Linked DNA regions of Homo sapiens: region 2 is linked to region 1. Evidence: promoter capture Hi-C in 16 types of primary human blood cells and fetal thymus (Javierre and others, 2016). All regions are on one chromosome and are shown on one strand. Each heading gives the region's core, a stretch centred on a gene start or on the middle of the fragment in contact. The rest is flanking DNA. Distances are from core to core; before and after follow the strand shown. Region 1 holds the start of ZC2HC1A (zinc finger C2HC-type containing 1A). Region 2 holds the start of PKIA-AS1 (PKIA antisense RNA 1).

What was found. The method cuts DNA at HindIII sites, captures the fragments that hold promoters and counts their contacts. A CHiCAGO score of 5 or more calls a contact.
Region 2: a fragment that was not itself captured here is called in contact with the fragment with the promoter of ZC2HC1A in region 1 in 2 of 17 cell types (activated CD4 T cells and non-activated CD4 T cells); the score reaches 5.8 in activated CD4 T cells.

Annotation. Positions count from the first base shown.
Region 1 is chr8:78,663,743-78,667,824 of GRCh38, forward strand. It overlaps ZC2HC1A (zinc finger C2HC-type containing 1A), which reads left to right and starts at 2,347. Exons shown (of 9, transcript NM_016010.3): 1 at 2,347-2,422. The coding sequence starts at 2,407. LOC105375911 (a long non-coding RNA gene) reads right to left here and starts at 2,237. Exons shown (of 4, transcript XR_007060972.1): 1 at 1,263-2,237. RefSeq lists enhancers at 1,470-1,978, 1,979-2,486, 2,451-2,500 and a silencer at 2,161-2,380. The HindIII fragment of the contact is 1,596 bases long and covers 1,762-3,357 here.
Region 2 is chr8:78,556,966-78,561,047 of GRCh38, forward strand. All of the region lies in intron 1 of PKIA (cAMP-dependent protein kinase inhibitor alpha), which reads left to right. It overlaps PKIA-AS1 (PKIA antisense RNA 1), which reads right to left and starts at 1,538. Exons shown (of 3, transcript NR_125389.1): 1 at 1,459-1,538. The region is part of intron 2 of LOC105375911 (a long non-coding RNA gene); the gene reads right to left. The HindIII fragment of the contact is 3,325 bases long and covers 48-3,372 here.

The DNA.
Region 1 (4,082 bases), core at 1,097-3,596:
TGTTATTTTCAGTTAACAAGATCACATGGCAGGTAGAAAAATTATGTACAGGTAAGTGCTTAAAAACATGAGAAGAAGCTGAGTTTCATTCATTTGAGTAACTGGCTAGTGATAAAATGGACTTGAAGCATAGAAGGTACTCAACAAACATTTGTTGAATGAATGCATGCCGAAAAATGGATTAGACTGGAGAGGAAGTAATGTCATGATACAGTGCCAAGACAAGACTCTCAGGCTAGGTATGTAGGCGGCAGAGGAAAGAACTTATTGAAGGCAGATAGGAAGAAGTCCTCTTTACTCAGGGGTCAGAATCAGGGAAAAGCTGCAGGAGCCAGGGTAGCTGTAGCGTAAAAGTTATGAAGAGACCAAAAGCATAAAAGTTATGAAGATACCTGTAGGGAAGACTAGCAATCATGTTTTAGAGAATTAAGATTCACAATAGAAATGCCTACTCAAATATATGTTAAACAACATGTCTGAACGCTTGGGTTTACACTTGAGGCAGCTATAATAAAAGGCAAGGCAAGGAAAGGGAGTGAGGAGCCCAATCAAATCACCATAGGCTTTAGAATTTAACAGACAAGAGTGTAGCCAAGCTCTACCATCCACTAATAATACAAATATTGACAAAATATTAATTGCTCTGAGACATCTAGAAAATGAACATTTTAATTCTGATAAATGAAGATTGTAGTATCTACTTTGTAGATTTCTTTTGAAGATTTGTGAATATATGAAAATGGCCTAAAACATGCCTCACATGATTTATTCTTTAATGCTATTTTTATTATTTTTAATGTTACTGTAGATTTTATGTCGAATAAGGTATCAGCCAACTCAATATTCGTCTTGCCTTCAGTGAAAGAACTTGTAATTTGTAAAATAATGGCTTCCTTATTTTTGTATTTTCTTCTGTGTGCTTTTTTTTCTCCTTAATGCTCTTTTAAAAGGCCTTCCCTCCCAACCAAAAATTCTACCTTTGCCTTAGTAGCACTAAGGAAGAAAAAGGACCTTTCCGCAGCACCCAGTCTAGAGTAGCTTATTGCCTGCAAGGCTATGGGTTGGCCAAGGAGGCCCAGGATCTCAGAGAAGCAGAAGAGCCAGGGGAACCAGGGAAGGGCGGAGGGAGTCATTGAGGCATGGTTGAAGTGGTCTTTACATGGCTCCACACAACAGATGGACTCTACCACATTCAAATGCACTTGGAGCACCTTCTCAGTAAGAGATGATGCCCCCTCAAGTGTTTGCTTGTTTAAACATACCTTCATGTGAGTGGAGAGTAGGAGGAATCCTGCTTCCTGAAGGTAACTGATTTCATAGTAGATGAAGTTAGATATGAAGTTAAACTCTTCAATTAAACAGATTAACAATAACATTAATCCGAGGTTTGTTATGGACAACACATTAATACTGGTAACTTGCCAGTAGATACGCTATAGTCAGCAAACAGTACAGCTTGTTTACGATTGCTAAATCAAATTTTCAAAGAAATGTAGTTCTGGTAATTGTAAGCAAAACCGTTAAAATGGTCTGAGTTAGTTTTGAAGTTACTTTCATCTTCAGGAGGTTTTGAACTCTGTTAGAGACGGGCGGGCCTCATTCTGTCAGGTTGTAGGTTAATTCCCCAACTCAAACTTCCCCGATCAAACATTGTCAGGCCAGGCGACTGTTTTGGTTTATGGATGATAAAGTATAGGGCCAAGGTAGGCCAAGAGTAGAAGACAGAGGGAGGGCTGGGTTTCACTTCTAATTTTTGGCCCAAGCTTTCATGGTGAGGAAACTGTTTTCAAGGGCTTAGAGCAATCGCAGTTCCACAATCGCAGATAGAAAGTATGATTTCTCTGGAAAAAAAGTGTCTTAACCTATGAAGCTGTGTGTGAAGATCAAGTGTAGGGGATACGCTGAGGTCAAGTCATGCGACCAAAGACCGGAAAACGGAGATTGCTGCATGCAAGCGTGCTGGGCGTTTGTTTGGTTTGCTTGCCTGCTTAAAGTATCCACTGGGAGGGATGGCGGCTAGAAGTCAGAGGCATTGACTGATTGAGGAACTGGTGAAGCGGAGCCCATGAGGTGCTGAGGTACTCTAAATAGGAGGATAAGGTATGAGGCAAAACAAGGCTGGAGTCAAACAAAGGCGCCGTTGCATCGCAGATTGCAACCTGAAGCGGCTCCCGGCTCCCTGGAGAGTAACCCGGAGAGACGGACAGGGGTGGCAGCCAGGAGGAGACCGCAGGAACCTCGCCTCCGCCGCGGCCCCGCCCCCACGGATCCCCGCCCCCGCAGTTGCGGAACCAATGGGAGCTCGGAATGTTAGCGGGTGGGAGGTGCGGCTGGGTTGCTACAGCCAGAGCTGGGCGGTGGCGGGCGCTGCTGAAGGAGTCTCGCTGAGCTCGAGGAGGTGGCGCGATGGAGGGACTGGAAGGTGAGGCGATGAAGGGATGAGGGCAGGACGGCTAGAGCGGGCCCGAAACAGCTGGGGACCCTGGACACCAGTAGCAGGAAGGCGAGGGCTGGTTCGGTGCGGCGGACCTCGCCGCGTCCCGCCGCGCCTCCGGAGGCTGGGGCCGAAGGGAACCGGACAGTCCCCGATGCGGTGGAGCTAACGCTACCAGGCTGCCCCGCCTCAGACGGTCTTCAACTGGGCTTTCCCGCCCGGAGCCAGATCCTGCCCCTGGCAAGACGCCTGCACGTCTCTTCCTACCATTTTCTGATCTTGCTTGACTCCTGAGTGCCCTTTTAGTGATCCCAGTCTCTGGCCAGATTTTGTTTTCCTTGTACTGGACTCTCTCCATTATTGTCCACGGCCTTAACACCAACAGGCCACTTTGTGCTGCAGCCCCGGGGTGTGTCTCCAGCCTCGAGCTCCTGACATTCCTTGGCCGATTTCCCTAGGTAACCGGCTTTTTACATTTCGACAGCATCTTCTGTCGGAGGGATGTCAGAGCATCTCCTAAGGAAGTGTCACTGGCCAGCTTTAGAGCCGGTACAATAGATTACCCGGAGGATTTGATGACTTATTCACGGCCGCTGTGTGAGGAAGAGCCTGTATTGGTTCCTTATCTTTGGGTTTATCTTTGTACTGTAACCATGACTCCAGATTTTGCTTTGTTCCCAGTTCTTTCACTTTTTCTCTATTCTGTTTACCCATTTTATCCTGTGTAATGAAAGCATTCACCTAAAAACAAAGGAAGGACAAAAACCACAATAACTAGCATTGGCAACAACAGTTTCAAGATTTTTTAATTTGTTATGATGAAGAACAAACCTTCAGAATTGAAAGATCCTATTGTCTTGATTTAGCTCCTTTCCCCCGTCTCCTAGTTTACACGGATTCAGTTGGAATTAAGAATGAGCAGAAGCTTTTGAGTCTTGTGTATTGTTGCATGCCAGGGAGTAAAATATTCTACATTGTGTGATGAAGTGCAAAGTGGTAGCCGGTAACTTTTTCAGTCACCTATTCACCAAAAAGCAGATGTAATAACATGAGTAGAAGTTTATTTCGTGCTTTTGCTCTGATAAATGATTCTGATAATTTTCCGTTTGTGGACAGCTGCAGTATGCTATGGCCTAATGAAGGTCTTGTTTTTTGCTTATGTGTTTTTGGAAGATAATTCAAGTTTCCATGAAATAAGGAATTGTAATGATAGTACAGTATATTTTACTTTCAAGATACTTTTGTATCTTGGTGGGATTAAAGCATGGGTTATGGAATTCTCATGAGATTATCATATATAATATGATAAGGTTTTATTACATATTATCTATAAAGTGTTTTGAACAGTTTGCAGATTTTTATTATTTTATTCAACATTTGTTATTAAGACAAAGATCATCATCTGATTTTTCACTTATGTATCCTAGGCACCTAAAACAATGTCTGACACAAAGTAGGTACTCAATAAATATTTGTTGTTAAATAAATGTCTATTATGGGCATCTTTTTAGGTTCTAGGTTGCAGCAAAGAATAAAAATGATAAAGCTTTACTCTCATCGAACCTACATTTTAGTGGACCTTACATTTTAACAGTGCTAAGATATTACTATTGAAACCTTACTACGAATGTTTTTAAAATATAATGGA
Region 2 (4,082 bases), core at 460-2,959, 110 kb before region 1:
GACAAAATCTTCCTACTAATTGACTCTCACTATTTTGTTACTGCTGAAGCTTCCTCTAATTTTGTATGTGCATATGTTACCCTACTTGTCATTTTTTTCCTCCTAACCTTCCTTATCAGAAAGCCCATCTCACCAACTTCACAGTCAGATAATTCTTGTTATGATCAGGAAAAAAGCAAACAAGAATGAATGTGACGCCAATTAATATAATTACTAATTAGAAGCCACATTTTGAGGGCATTAAAACAGAAGAAGAGTAGAAATGATAATAACTTGGTTTTAGGGAAGCTGTTAACATATAAATAGAACCCAAAATGGCACCACTGGTAGTTTTCCAGGGACTTAATATTTCTGACACACACTCAATTTGTGCCCATGGATAAGACATACTATATTATAGGAGAATCAAAGAGTTACATATTTGGAAAAATCAGGTTACCAAAAAGAATAATGACATTGTTTAAACAATAATGCATTAAACTTTCCTTGTTTATTATGCTAGAAGTTGTATGAGATTATCTGAGTAAAAGCATTTCAATTACTTCAGCATTGTGGGACATGAAGTGTAAAAGAACTCAGAACATGGGAAAAAAAGGAAAAAGAGAAAGGAAATGGCTGAAAGATTAATTACTTGGCTGTCAGCTGCTAGGGGAGTTTATTTATGTTCTCTTAATATTCATAAGGCTCTTGTCAAAATGGTATTATTAAATACCCATTTTATAGAAAAGGGACTGAGGCTGTTCAACTGCAGTTTATTTGATGGGTATTTATGCCTGTGATGGGGACAGCTATGTCAGGAACTTCAATTCCAGTTAAAGTGAAACCTGGCAGAGACATAGTTTTGATCCAAATTTTGACAGTAGTACAATGTTGCTTGTCCTTCTCCGGGATGGTAGTCTGTGTTTCCCTGTAACATTTTGTCTGATTTGTTTGTACCAACTATTTGGTTTTGTAAATTTATGTGACACTTTGTTTTAAGCTAATTATAAATGTAAATTAGACTCTAAGATGTCTTTTTTCCACTAACTGGTTTTGTAGTAGCAAAAATCTGAAATTACATGCAAAATGCTGTTTACAGTTGTTTTAGTAAGGGGATGCAGAGCAGTCAGAGTGAGTTGTCAGATTCTCAAAACAAAATCAAATTATCTAATATTTTACATTAAATCAGGTAATGAATACCGCTTCTGGATCCAAACATTGGTTTAATTATTTATAATCTTTGCAGTGTCCCTAAAATATCTATTATCTCCAATTAACACTAAGGAAACTGAGGCATAGAGAGGTCCAAGTAAGTGGCAGGGATGGAATTCAAACCCAGGTCAGTTTCAGGCTTGAACTCCACTAATTCTATACCTTTCACTGCCTCTCTCACTGTAGGTAATTGTATTAGTCTGTTTTCATGCTGCTGATAAAGATATACCCGAGTCTGGGAAGAAAAAGAGGCTTAATTGGACTTACAATTCTACATGGCTGGGGAGGCCTCAGAATCATGGTGGGAGGCAAAAAGCACTCCTTTCATGGCAGCGGCAAGAGACGATGAGGAAGAAGCAAAAGCGGAAACTCCTGATAAACTCATCAGATCTCGTGAGAGGTACTCACTATCACGAGAACAGCACGGCAAGACCACCCCCTTCCCCCCCGCCCGACCACGATTCAATTACCTCCACCTGGGTCCCTCCTGTGACATGTGGGAATTCTGGGAGATACAATTTAAGTTGAGATTTGGTGGGGACACAGCCAAACCATATTAATAATCAACAAATGTTCACGTATTTCCTTTACATCAGGTGGAGTAAAAGAACAGGTGTGTGAAAGAAACAGAATCAATCATTAAGCGATACTTAAACCAGTGCAGATTAGTTTTAATGTAAATGTTATAATAATAATGCTAGTCAGCAGTTACTGGATATTCATATTATGTTAGAAACTGTGCATTTAATACATTATGGGTTTGTTTGTTTGTTTGTTTGTTTTGAGACGGAGCCTTGCTCTGTTGCCCAGGCTACAGTGCAATGGCGCCATCTCGGCTCACTGCAACCTCCGCCTCCTGGGTTCCAGCGATTCTCCTGCCTCAGCCTCCCGAGTAGCTGGAATAACAGGCATGCGCCACAACGCCTGGCTAATGTTTGTATTTTTAGTAGAGACAGGGTTTCACCATGTTGGCCAGGGTGGTCTCAAACTCCTGACCTCAGGTGATCCACCCGCCTCGGCCTCCCAAAGTGCTAGGATTACAGGCATAAGCCACCGTGCCCAGCCCTTTATGGGTATTTTTAAAGTTAAATCTCACATATATACTACCGACTCTAGGAAGTAGCTAAGGTGATCAAAACATCAACATGATCAGCAATTAAGTGGAAAGGGGTTCCTGGGGGATGGTTTTGACCAAGACATTAAGGAGAGAAGGGATGGGCAGTGGTGGGAAGACTGAGAAGCTATTTATAGCAGGGAGATAGCACTAAGCATGCATTGCTTGCTTAAGAACTGTGGACCCTGATAACCTAAAAAGTGTGGTTTTGATGAAAACTGAAGAGTTATACCTTTATGCAGTTTAAAAATAATAGACTGATATCTATCCATCCCTTCATGTTTGAACATAACTGGTTTGGAGATGTGTTGAAATGACTGATCTCAAGTTCTCTTTCAAATCTGAACTAAATGTCTGTGTGATGGAGATAGAGGCTATGGAGCTGCTTTCCCGAGCTCATTGATACAGCCCCCTCACTTTCGCCAGTGTTTTACATTCTGGCAAACCAGCATAGTTCTTTTTATCTGTAGTTATTATACATCTAGTTGAGAAAACCCAGTTTGATCTATTTATACCAAAGTACAAATGAAATCTGAATTCATCTGATTAGTTCTTCCTGTAAAATTGTGTTCATTTCTATCACATATGTTGTAACATAAAGATTTTTGGTGATATCCTAGTCCCAAAGTGATAACCTAGATCATCTGACTCTACATTCTCCATAGGAATAAATCATACGAATCTCTCTGAAGTAATGTTATAATTAATTCCTAAAGGTAATTTATAATTATATATATGCTACTTTCATGCATATTTGATATCATTTTGACTTTCACTATTCATTTATCATGTTTGCAAGCCTTTTGTTAAAAATAGCTGGTACACAAATCATTTCCTGATTGCCACATCTGGAACCCTGATTATATTTGCATTTCACAGTCGTTAGCCTTTAAAACTAGAGCAGAATCTGGGAATTTGCAGACAAAACAGTGCTTCCTTCTGGCAGTTGCATAAAAAGACATTTTTAAATCTGCATTTCTGTTTAAAGAAAACTGATTTATTTTCATTCTAAATTTATATAACACTTTCTTTAAACTAATCATAAAATGTAAATTAGGTTAACTCTAAGCTTTTTCCCCACCAGAACAAATGACAGTAACATTTTGTACAAAAAGAAAACGTTTTTCTATTCACACCTTGAATCATTGCTCTCCCTGTCTTTGAAAGTTAATTCTGATTAAGATGTACTGGTAGCTCATTGAAATCTTTGACAAAGCCAGCTTAGCTATTCTCTTGAGTAATGATTTACCTTACATTAAAATATCTTAAACATATGAACATTAATAACTAAAGTGATGAATATTACTAATATTGGGACTCAATTCATCAAGGAGAATACTTTGGGGAAGCAGATGGACTGTGAAGGGACAGGGATAATTTTTAACTATGGCCTTGATATTTAGACCAATGGCCGAGGAAAACCATGAAGAACATGAGAATGGGCTTCATTCATGTCAAGGAAGCAGAGTATTTGCTGATGGCTTAACATTTACTGGGCATGTCCTAACAGGATAGCCTGAAAAGATACATAACATTTTATCTGAGTCATTTAATTTAACCACATCCCTCTGTGTTAGTGTTATCTCTATTGGTAGATAGAAACCAGGCTCAGGAAGATTAAGAATGTTACCTAATTCTAGTAAGCTGCAAAACCTAAACTGATTTAATTCCAGAGCAAAGATCTTTCTACCTTATCAGCATGGGTCTTTACCTCTTTGAGAATATATGAGCTCTATGAGCCTTCTTCCAGAAAAATCCATAAATAAACAACATGAGA